2 separate regions of the Homo sapiens genome follow, and region 2 is linked to region 1. The links are contacts of gene promoters, found by promoter capture Hi-C in blood cells and fetal thymus (Javierre and others, 2016). All regions are on one chromosome and are shown on one strand. Each heading gives the region's core, a stretch centred on a gene start or on the middle of the fragment in contact. The rest is flanking DNA. Distances are from core to core; before and after follow the strand shown.

What was found. The method cuts DNA at HindIII sites, captures the fragments that hold promoters and counts their contacts. A CHiCAGO score of 5 or more calls a contact.
Region 2: a contact is called between a fragment that was not itself captured here and the fragment with the promoter of SLC22A15 in region 1, in 1 of 17 cell types (monocytes). The highest score is 5.7, in monocytes.

Annotation. Positions count from the first base shown.
Region 1 is chr1:115,975,054-115,980,468 of GRCh38, forward strand. It overlaps SLC22A15 (solute carrier family 22 member 15), which reads left to right and starts at 1,460. Exons shown (of 12, transcript NM_018420.3): 1 at 1,460-1,661. The coding sequence starts at 1,575. It overlaps LOC101928977 (a long non-coding RNA gene), which reads right to left and starts at 2,223. Exons shown (of 5, transcript NR_125970.1): 1 at 2,044-2,223. RefSeq lists silencers at 1,307-1,536, 1,597-1,846. The HindIII fragment of the contact is 7,335 bases long and covers 1-2,752 here.
Region 2 is chr1:115,726,187-115,732,294 of GRCh38, forward strand. CASQ2 (calsequestrin 2) reads right to left here. Exons shown (of 11, transcript NM_001232.4): 6 at 806-936. Among named protein-coding and RNA genes, the nearest start is that of CASQ2, 39 kb to the right of the region's middle. The HindIII fragment of the contact is 1,467 bases long and covers 4,040-5,506 here.

The sequences.
Region 1 (5,415 bases), core at 210-2,709:
TTTTACCAAACACTCACACTCATGTTATGAAAGCACTATAAAATCTTACTGCCAAATCTAGACATAAGCATCAGGAAGAAAAGAAAATTATAGGCCTAGTTCGCTAGTCACAGATGTAAAGTCCCTAGACAAAACACTAGCAAATTAAATTTGGCAATAAATAGCAATATCGTGAGCAAGTATTAATAGGATTTATTCCAGTAAAGTTCAATATCAAAAAAACTATTACCATAATGTACCCGATTATCAGATTCAAGAAGAAAAACAATAGGATCATGTCAATAAATGCAAAAAGCACTTATTAAACTTCAGCATTTATTAATAATGAGGATTCGTAGGAAACAGCCAAAGAAGGAAACTTTTTAAACTATTAATAGTACTTATACAGAAAACGTTTCCTTAAGTAAGAGAGAGAAAAAAATCTTAAGAGTTTATAGAGTTTACAGTTTCCAACCCACTGATAAATTCAATTACAGTGAGCATTCATTTAATTGCTAAAAAAAGAAAGCAGCTGACCAGTAAAGCCTAGCTACCAATACGCTGCAACAGACATCACAATTAACGGAAAATTTTGGAAGCATAAGAAGGATACTGGCAGGTCAAGGACACTAGCTGGTCGCCATTTCTATTCAATGTTAAACTAGAAGTCATGGTCTAGACAATGGAATACTATGCAGCTGTTAAAAAGACAACACATAATAAACAAAAAGGCAAATGAGGTTAGGAGGTGGAGGCATGAGGGGACTAACGCAGGTGTCCAGCGTCCCTTGGCCCTGCCACGCTTTTTTTTTTTAATTTCCACCTGACAAACTGCCGTTTATCCTTTAAATACCTTGGCAGCCATCACATCCTGCCCCTTCGTCTTTTGCACTTCCTTTGTACCTCGTGCATACTTCTATAAGCAAATGTATCCGACGGTTTTACAAGAATTTGCTTGCCTACCAGTGTACTTAACCCATGGCTAGCACAGAATAGGACTGGAAAGAAATGCTGCACAGACAGCACTTTTCTCTGAAGGCTCTAGGGCTCCCCAAGCCCCCGCATTAAACTGGTTTGGGCAAAACGACAGGCATTGCTGAGAGCCGCCAGGCCGCCCGCCAGCTGCGGGTCCCCTGTAGGCAGAGCCCTGGGTCACACGCGGACGCGGTCCCGATGTTTCTTCTCAGGCCCTCAGCCCGGCCCACTTCCTCTTTCCTCACTTTAAGGCGCAGACAGCGGTCCCTCTCAAAACAAAACGTACACCAAAACACCATTTTTTTTTTAAACAGGAAGTCCAGAGGCCCGGGTCCAGGGCATCCAGCCCCGGATCTCGAACGCCCTCCTCGCCCCTCGCCCCGCGTAGCCCGGCTGCGCTCCCCGCTCCCCGCCCGGCGTCCACCTCTCGAGCCTGACAGCCCCGCCGCCCGCGCAGGCGCCCCGCCCCGGCCCGGCCCGCCCCGGCCCCGCCGCCAGCGCTTCCATCCCCGCCCCGGCGGGTCCAAGCCGGTGCCGGGCGCCCAGGGGTTGCCGCGCTGGGCGGGAGGGCAGCGCCTGAGAGGGCGGTGGGGTGGCGGGGTTCCTGCGCGCGGCCCGCCATGGAGGTGGAGGAGGCGTTCCAGGCGGTGGGGGAGATGGGCATCTACCAGATGTACTTGTGCTTCCTGCTGGCCGTGCTGCTGCAGGTAAGTCCCCGCGGCCCCGCAGCCGCATTTCCCTCTTCAGGGCCGCCCGGCGCAGGGCTAGGCGTCCGCTCCCAGACCGCCGGGGCCGGGGCCGAGGCCGAGGCTCTGCAAACACCGAGGTGTGGCGAGCGTCGGGGTGGGGCAGGGGCGAGGCGCCGCGCGGTGGCCTGGGCCCGGCCGGCAGCGTCAAGGTCGCCGGCCGGCCTCAGAGCCTCTTGGGTTCTGCTGGGCCCTCCACCCCGCCACCTTGAGTGGTGGAAGGAGCGTGTTGGGGGAGGTTTCTCAGCCGCTATGCTGGTTAAGGAGGGATGCAAAATTGTGTTACCTGCCCTACGCTGTTGCCTATAACACGCTGCAAATATGAAGGGAATTGTTACCCTACCTGTGGCACTGTCACCTTGGAATCTAGGACACAGTCTTGATAATCTGCAGACAAAAGGTTGTGTCTAGGATCGCCTCCCTCTGCGCCGGGTGTCCTCTGCCTCTTTTCCTGGGCTTGAGGGGGCTTACTCTTCTAGGGGCTTTCAAAGCATAGGATTTATTTCCCTCTGGTTTAAGTTCTGCTGGCTCATTCGGCCCTGCGCCAGCCTTGGGCTGAGACTCCCGTGAGCCGAATAGTGCCATCTACCATGTGTGGTTATCAAATGGAATCACTTCTTCATTATAAAGAATTCTCAGAACCTACTTGTACACCCCAGCCTCAAAATATCGATTCCATATGCGAAAGGTCACTACAGATTAACTGCGCCAGGCAAGGATTAGTCCTTCACCAACTTAAATGGCTCATTTGACATTAGTCGCTTCTCTCAATATGCCAGAGGCATTTCATTCACAAATCCTTTCTTAGTATTTGCTGTGAGCCAGCCATTTTACTCTTTCCTTCAGTCATCAGGTTTAATACGGGCTAGGATGTGCTGAACATAGGGATGCCATGGTGGACAAATCATTGACTGCCCTCAGGAGCTTGCATTCCAGTGGCTGCGGGTGGGGCAGGCAGACAGTTAAGTAATTTAGTTAGCATGTGATGATAGTTATTCTGCAGGAAGTACAGAGTGGTCATGGATATAGCCACCAGTCCACAAGTTGCTTAAAGCTTGCATAAGACAGTGGCTCAACAGGAAGATGGGGGAAGGTAGGGGTTGACTTATTGATTAAAATGTTTGGAAGTTCAGTTGATTTCATCATCAGCCAGAAACGGTTCAAATGATGGAGTCAGTTCTTTTTCTAGCCGAACAGTTCTCAGCTCACGAATATGTGGTATTCTGAAGTTCTTTTAAGCTCGTTGTTTTAGCTTTAAACAAGCTTTCCCCAGGGAGAAAAAACGTTCAAGCTAAATGATAAGAGTATTTAATACCGAGAAAGAAGAATTGCAACCATGATGCCTGATCTTTATTTATAACAGTTTCTTTGAGAAAACCCTTTTTTTCTGTTCCAGCCATGAATTCCAGGAACATACATCCTTTCTTGAACAATCCCAGCTCCCCATCCCTCTATCCCTACCCTTCACTTCCTGTTATCATTTTCTTATTTGCCTAGCCAAGTATCCACTAACTTGGAGTAAGTTTGTCTTCAGTAGAGTGAGGTTCTAAAAAGGCCAGTGTTCTCGGTTTAGGACCTGTTAAGTTTCTCTAACTTACTTTTATTTATGGTTGACCCAGTTAGTTAGAGTTTGCTATCAAAAAGTTCCAAGCCCATGCCTATGACCGTTCACTAAACCTTGGATGATTTATGGTCAGTATTTGCGGTACAAGGACCAGGTCTTAGAGTGTTGGGGATGAGTGACTGATTGTTTATCTTATAGATGTGGGTGGGAAGATGCCCTGTAGCTGTGCTTATACCAGTGGAGGAGATGCCAGCCTAGGCAAAAGTGAATCCTTCACATGCTACGTGTTTTTAAGGACTCAGTTACCCCATTGAGATACATGATCCAGGGGGTTGTAGAGCCACCCAGAGCTACCCTGGGTATGAGAGTGGATATCCCCAAAGACCTCTCTACCAAGTCTGTTGTTGGAGATGTTTTGTATTACGGCAGCTGGTCTGTGGAGTGGGAGTACTGTGGAGTCCCATTGCTCAGTTGTATCACAGGTGATTTCATCATTCTTGGGGATGAGGTTTTGCTTCCCCCAGCAGAGTAAGAAGCCCTTTTTACACAGTTGCCTTAAATGAAAGGGGGTTTTTCTGCTTTTAAAATCAAAGGAGTTTTCGTACCATTGCCCAAGGAAGGGGCAGACCAACAACACAGCAACAAGGCCAGAGAGAGGGAGCCTCTGCTTCAGTGGGAGCCTTCTCCCCATCTGCGATTTGATAATGATTAACCCCAGCTGAGAGGCACAAAACCAGAAGGACAGAGGTGGAAATTTTACAGGCCTTTTAACATTTTCCTTCTTCTGGGACCATTATTATTATTTTTAAAAATGATTTTCCCTTTACCCCAAACACATCTATGTTCAAACTAAGAGGACAAAACCACATAGCAAAGCCAATTCTAAAGGGTTTTTGGTTAACTGTTTTCTTGAATTATTGGTACCATCATGTAGATCATCAAAAGTTACTTCACTATCCAGTTTCCTTTGGCTAGGAGACTTGCCCTCATACTCCTTGCAAACACAATTTTTGGAATCTCAATAGCATTCAACTTTGAGATAACTAAAGAACAGATGCAGATTTTGCAGATTTTTCCTCAGCGTAAGATGCAAATGCCCTGAAAATGGTGATATGTGGTATTAATGTACATAAACAAAAAGTGAAGGGAAAAAGATTGCCTATGTAAAAATGGTTGACTTATGAATAAACAATAAGCTTTACAGTTAGAAACATTCTTACCATCAAAATGTACTTGCTCTCCCTAGGATCAGAGCTATCTGCGATATTTAAATAGGAATAATTCTATTTAGCATATTACTGTTTCTCTTCTGATGGTGATTCCGAGTTGCTGCCATCGTCACTATTTTGTGTTTGTGTATGTGTTTGCTTGTTGTCTAGGCTCTCTGGAGGAGGAGGGTTGGAATACAATTCATTGTTTCTTGATTCCTTTAGACATGCAATGAAAATGGACGTTACTTCTTTGTTCTAAGCCAGAGGCTCCTGCTTTGTCATTTTCCTCAAAATCATGAATCGTACATTATATTATAATTTGCACAGAATTTAAAGCCCCCATTTACTATCAGGAACATGTAATCTATAACAAGCATTCACCAGCAAAATTGTGATGCTGTGCTATGAATCTCATCTTAGATTCTGGTGTTCAGGAATGCATTATTTTTATATATATATTAAGTATATATATATACTTAATAACCTTATTTTTTAGATCCTGGAATGACCAGTGCATTAATATTATCCATGCAATAAATAGCTTTTCTCAGCATTTTAGAAAGTAGAATGATTGCAGAAGAGGAAACTGTAATAGTCAACACACGAAAAGATGTTTTAACTTCAGTGGTCATCTGGGACAGGCATATTAAAATGGATATGAAATACCATTTCACACTTGCTATATTAGCAAACATTAAACAATCTAACAGTACAAGTGTGATGAAATGATAAATAGAAACTATACCCCATTTAGAGAACAATTTGGCACCATCTAGTAGAATTAAAACCTAGCATTGAACTCCTAGGTACACATCCCACATTGTCCCTTGAGCACGTGCATAGGGAGATATGTGTAAGATGTTTACTGCAACACTGTCTATTATAACAAAAGTTAGAACCACCTGACTTTCAAAACAAGACTGGATAAGATGTGGTATAA
Region 2 (6,108 bases), core at 3,523-6,022, 250 kb before region 1:
GTACATGCCAGGTAGGGTGGAGGGACAAGCCAGTGAGTCCACTACCATGTTCCATATTCCCATATCTTCCCTCCCTCAAGAGCAGGGGTCAAAAAACTACAGCTGGTGGGACAAATCCAGCCAGGGCCTCCTGTTTTCCTAAATAAACTTTTACTGGTACACAGCCACACCCATTTGTTTATACATGATCCATGGCTGCTTTCATGCCACAGCCGCAGTTAAGTAGTTGCTACAGACGCCATCTGGCCCACAGAACCTGAAATATTTACCATTTTGTTCTTTACAGAAAAAGTTTGCTGATCCATGCTGGAGCTACACTAAGTGGTATCAAGCATTTCTCTCCCAGAAGTTCTATGCATAGAGTGTTCATCCTTGGCTAAGTTACTTAACTATTGAGTCCAATTCCTTGATCTGTAAAATTGGGATAATAATAATTACTCCCTAAGGTTGGAGATTAGATAAAATAGTTTCCCTAAAGCACTGGGCATGGTTATTGGTATATGGGAACTTTCACTAAATTGCTCTCATTCCTAGTATAGAATTTTATTTATATCTTGCCCTGGCTTTGAGGGGATTTGCTGACTGAGGGATTTATCAAACTCTGCTTGCAGGTGCAGACTTAGATTCAGAAGTAATAACATCCCTGCTAGTCATTACTGATCAACAAAGCCATACTACTGAGTTCTGTACTGCTGGGGTACTAACTAGGTTGTTGCTCTTGGCAGGTCTGAAATGTTAGCACAGAGAGGCTCCTCTCCATTCCCCAGACCCCAGGCCCCCAGCCCCCACATGCCATCTCAGGCACCTTTGGTGTTCCTTCACAAACTCCACCAGCTCCTCTTCTGTGTAAGGTTTGTTGGGGATGGCAATGGGCTCATCCATAAATGGCTCATAGAAGTCAACCTCATTCATCTTCAAAGATAATTTCTTTGCAACCTGTAACCATTAGAAATAAGACAAAGTTTATTTGAATACTAGTCTAGAATAGCAGTGTGTTGTCCATCTAAGATAAGTGTGTATGTTTTCCGGCAAAGACATAAAAACAGATGTACAGTTTTAACTTCAATGTTGAAGTGACAGGAACTTATCACCCAAGGCCTGGCTAGACTAATCTTCTTTTGTGATCAAAGAAGGAAAGATAGGAAGGAAAAAGACTTATCTAGCAAATGAGGGTCGGGCAGGGGCAGGGAGCAGTTGAGATGCGAAGTGGGAAATTTAATTCTACAATCACCATCACTCTACTGCATTTGCCAGGGCTGGATGGGAAGCAAATGCCAATGGAGCATATTTACTATCCTGTGTTGTATGGATTTAATGGAACCAATGTTGATAAAACAGGCAATTGATGGAGATCCTTAAGGCATATAGGTACTCAGAATCAGAACCCAACCCATTAGCCTGTCTTTGATCTGCTCATAGCCCTAATTGCTTTTTAGGTTGAAGTGCTGGCCCTACAGTTAAATCTCTCAGTACCCAACTTGCTTCATGGTTTGTCAGGCTTTGGGAGCTGCCCAGTTTGTCAGCAGTTATGAGGTGACTGACCATCTTGCTTTGTTCTGGGTGGAAGGGCTCCCTGGGATGCAGGACTTTCAGTACTGAAACTTGGACAGACCCCAGTAAGCCAGGATGATTTGCTCATCTTACAACAGATAAAGAGCTCGGAGAGCCAGCCGATAGCCAGGAAGACATTTTCTCTCTGGATTAAAGCAGCCACATGTTCAGTGTGTTGTCAAGGCAGAATGGTTGCTGTTTGCCTGCACAGCTGCTGAACTCAGGACCTCTGTTTGTGAAATGATTTCAGAGGCCTGGAATGTGCAACGCTCTATAGAAAACCAAATGCCACTCTTTTCTAGTTCAGAGCTGTGGTTCAAGAAAGCGCAGGGATGAACAGTGGTTCCCTTTAAGCTGAAGAGGAATTGCCTAAGAGCTGATGCACTGTGGTGGTAACCCGTGGTGCCGTGACCCAGGGCGGCTGCAACTAACTGGGGAAGGGGAGGAGCTGGGTATTGCATAAGCTCTTACACAAGGAGATCCATTCTGAGGAAACATTGATATCCATATGGTTTTTGTCATCAATTGCTATGAATTCCAGGTCACTATATTCTGAAAGGCATTTCATATAGTACTTAAGGGAGAGAAATTCCAGCATCCTACTCAGAGATCAAGAAAACAGGCCATGTTGACAGCTATAGTCAGTCAAGGGAGATTTTATTGTCAGGTTAATTTTAAGAGAGGGAGATGTGGAGTTTTTTCTAACTGTTTTTCCCTCTTCTCAGGGGTAGGGGGGTGATGTAGATGATGAGGTGATGAGGCAGGGAGCCAGAGTGGGCAAGAAAATGACATTGAATTCTGGTTTTCTGAGTTCACTTACTATGTATTCTAGGAACCAGAAGACTGTTTCCATGAAAGGAGAAGTGATCAGAATGAAAACAGTAATAATAACAAACATATGGAGTGCTTATCACGTGCCAGGCACTGCTGCCAGGTGTTTTAGGTTGATTCTTTGTTTAATTCTCACTTTGATTGTATGTGGTAAGAATGATTATCATAGTTATTTTACAAATGATGAACCTGAGGCACAATTTGGGTAAGAAATTTGTCAGGATCATATATCTGGAGGGAGCAGAGCCAGAAGTCAAACCCGCCTGGTGGTGGTGATAGTCTCGTCTCTGAATGCCAATGTCTGGGTCCACAGTGCTGTCTAAGAATGTAAAAATTGGATTGTCGTGTCCTTAATTTAAGTCTTGGAAATGCTAAGTAAAAATTTCCCAGGGATCTCTTCACTGTCTACCTACCACCATCATGGAGTGCTCTCATCTTGTATCTCAGAGAATCCCTCTCTTTCATTCTTTTTTTTTTTTTTTTTTTTTTTTTTTTGGTGAGACAGAGTTTTGCTCTTGTTGCCCAGGCTGGGGTTCAATGGCACAGTCTCGGCTCACTGCAATCTCCGCTTCCCAGGTTCGAGCGATTCTCCTGCCTCAGCCTCCCGAGTAGCTGGGATTATGGGCACAGGCCACCACACCCAGCTAATTTTTGTATTTTTAGTAGAGATGGGGTTTCGCCATGTTGGCCAGGCTGGTCTTGAACTACTGACCTCAGGTGATCCACCTCCCCCCTCGGCCTCCCAAAGTGCTGGGATTACAGGCGTGAGCCACTGCGCCCGACCCCCTCTTTCATTCTTATTATTCCTATCTTGGATGGTAAGGACTGAAGGGATTTGATTGGTTGAAGCTTTTATTCATTCATTTATTCAGTAAGTATTTAGTGGGGCCTACTGAACCCAAGGCATTATTCCAGGAGGAGATCTGGTTCATGGGTATTAGCATTATATAAGAATGAATTATATTATTAAGAACCAAATGGGTCCATAAAAATGAATTCTTTCATGCTTTTATCTGTTAACTAGTTGGAATAGATTTCAACAAAGATAAGAAAACTACAAAGTACAATGCCAATTTTCTGACATGTGCATGTATATGAATTTTGATACAAATCATTTTTCCTCCAGTTAGCAAGTCATTTTAGTTGTTGCCAATGAAACCAACTCAAGTATTAGGTTGGTGCAAAAGTAATCGCAGTTTTTGCCAAAAGTAATGGTTTTTGCCATTACTAAATTTAGGTCTTCCCAACATCTATCTTCTCCACTAACTTTGTTTAGTCACAGCACCCTTTGGCTCCAGTGTGATTTAAAAAAGAAAGTGATTTTTCGTCTCATTGTTCACTCAGACAGAGAGAGGAACAGGTCAGTGGGCGGGGACATGGGATTTTAAGAACTGATATTTTTCAGGCTGTGAGGTGCAGCAGAGTGGAACCATCCTTGGCCCTCTGACACTTTCTTGTTCTAACTGCTTCTTCAGAGAGGTTGGGCCTTCGTGTGGCTTGATTTAGGATTAGTATTAATAGATCAGTACTGGTCCTAAACCTCCACACCCTTTAAAATTCCTTGGGTGGCTTTTGAAAATGCAGATTCCCAGACACTGCCACAACCCTAAAAAATTAAAATTTCCAGGGCTGGGGCCCAGAGACCAATGGTTTTAAAAGCTTGTTGGAGGATACTAATATGGATAGTGGTTGGGAACTACTGACTGACAAATTTACATCAGCAGCCATGACATCTCACCCTCTTTACAGTCTTGCAACTCATATGATGTATTTATTGGTTTGTTTACTTTTGAACTTTCTGTCTTTCCATCTTCTCTTTCCCACAATAAACTTTAAATTCTAAAGGGCAGGAATCTGCTTTGCTCAATGTTGTGTCCCTGGCACTAAGAAGAGTGCCTGGCACATAAAGGGCACTCAATAAATACTTGTTGAGTGAATGACTGAATTAATTAATTAATTAATTAAGGACATTTCCAGTTGAATGTTTCCCCAACTTTTAGAAAATAGAACTCATAACCCCATCTCTTGTTCCTCAATAGATTCTTCTTCCTGGATTTCCTAATGTTTTCAGTAGCTTCATAATTTTTGCTGTCTTAACGCCAAGACTTGCTATCTTAAGTTATTTTGAGGCCTTCTCTCATCATCTCATCAATGGCCAGATCTTCTTGTTATATCCACTTTTACTAGTGCCAGTTGTTTTTTGCATTTTTGTGACCGCATTAGTGCTTTCTTGTCCCTTGCCTCTCCTGGTTTCAGACCTCAACAAAGCACCTCCAGGTCCCTCTGAGATTCCCTAGGATGTGTTGTACAAACAGGTCCTTTCAGCCACTTCACATTTATTACTTTTCTCCTCTTCTGTCCTAGCACTCCCTGCTGGAAACCACTGAGGCTCTACCAGGTGCAGTCATGCCTTCTGGACTCCACCATCTCCCCTTGGACACCCCCTCCACCCCAACTGATGGATGCAAGTTCTTAAGCACCAAATGGCATCAGAGTCCTCTCAGTGCTCTCCCCTCTGTGTACCTTTGTCTCTTTAAATATTCTGAAATCCAACAAGGCTACATGAACACTGGCACTTATGACTCAGTGTCCTACAGAATTTGAATAAAGCATCTCTCTGAATTTTTAATCATAGCCTGACCTCACCTTTTTCATGGACCACAGGCATGAAGCTATACAGTTGCACTAGGAGGCACTTCTACAAACAAATACTACCCTGAGCTCAACGTTGAACCACCCCTCTAAAAACTAAGGCTTTGTTGCTGGACAAATTAATTGGCCTGCCTCTCTATTCCTTTCAGCTGGATTCTTACCCAGGAGCCTCTTTAGCCACACCTAGTCCATTAGAACCAAATGGTCCATCAGAACCATATGTCAGTAATGGATTCAGTTTCGGCTTCTCTGTTCCTCCCTTTCTCTACTAATATCCTATCCAATCCTCCCACTTCCTGGGCCTAGATGATTGCTTTCTTATGAACAATGGTGCTCATAGCTGGCTAACTATTACTGAATGCTTCCTGTGTGCCAAAAACCAGCTAGGCAGTTTGCATATATTGCTTCTTTCTCTGGAGTAAAGTAGGACAGAGCATTGACTTTGAAGTCAGGCTGGTCTGAGATTATAGCAAGCTTCTCAATTCAGTAACTACATGATCATGAAAAAATCACTTAATCTTTCAGCACCTCAGTTTCATCCTCTGTAGAATGAGGATACTAATTCCTCCCTTATGGGAGTGTTGAAAGGATGAAGTGAGAAAATCCATGTTAACTTCTTAGCACACACTCTGGCACAAAGAGACTTCTTAGCACAGACTCTGGCACATAAAAATTTTTTTGAATTTATTATTTTTTATATTTTTATTTTTTGAGAGAGGATCTCACTCCATTGCCCAGGTTGGAGTACAATGGTATGATCACAGCTCACTGCAGCTTCAACCTCCTGGGCTCAAGTGATCCTCCCACCTCAAGCCTCCCAAGTAGTTCGGACTACAAGTGTGTGCCACCACACCCAGCTAATTTTTGTATTTTTTGTAGAGATGGGGTCTCACCATGTTGCCCAGGCTGGTCTCCAACTCCAAGGCTCATGCAATCCACCCCCGTCAGCCTCCCAAAGTGTTGGGATTACAGGTGTGAGCCACAGCACCTGGCCCATAATAGACACTTAATACATGATAGCTTTTTTGATTATTCTTGCTCAAGATCCCTCCCAACTGTAATACAACTAATTAG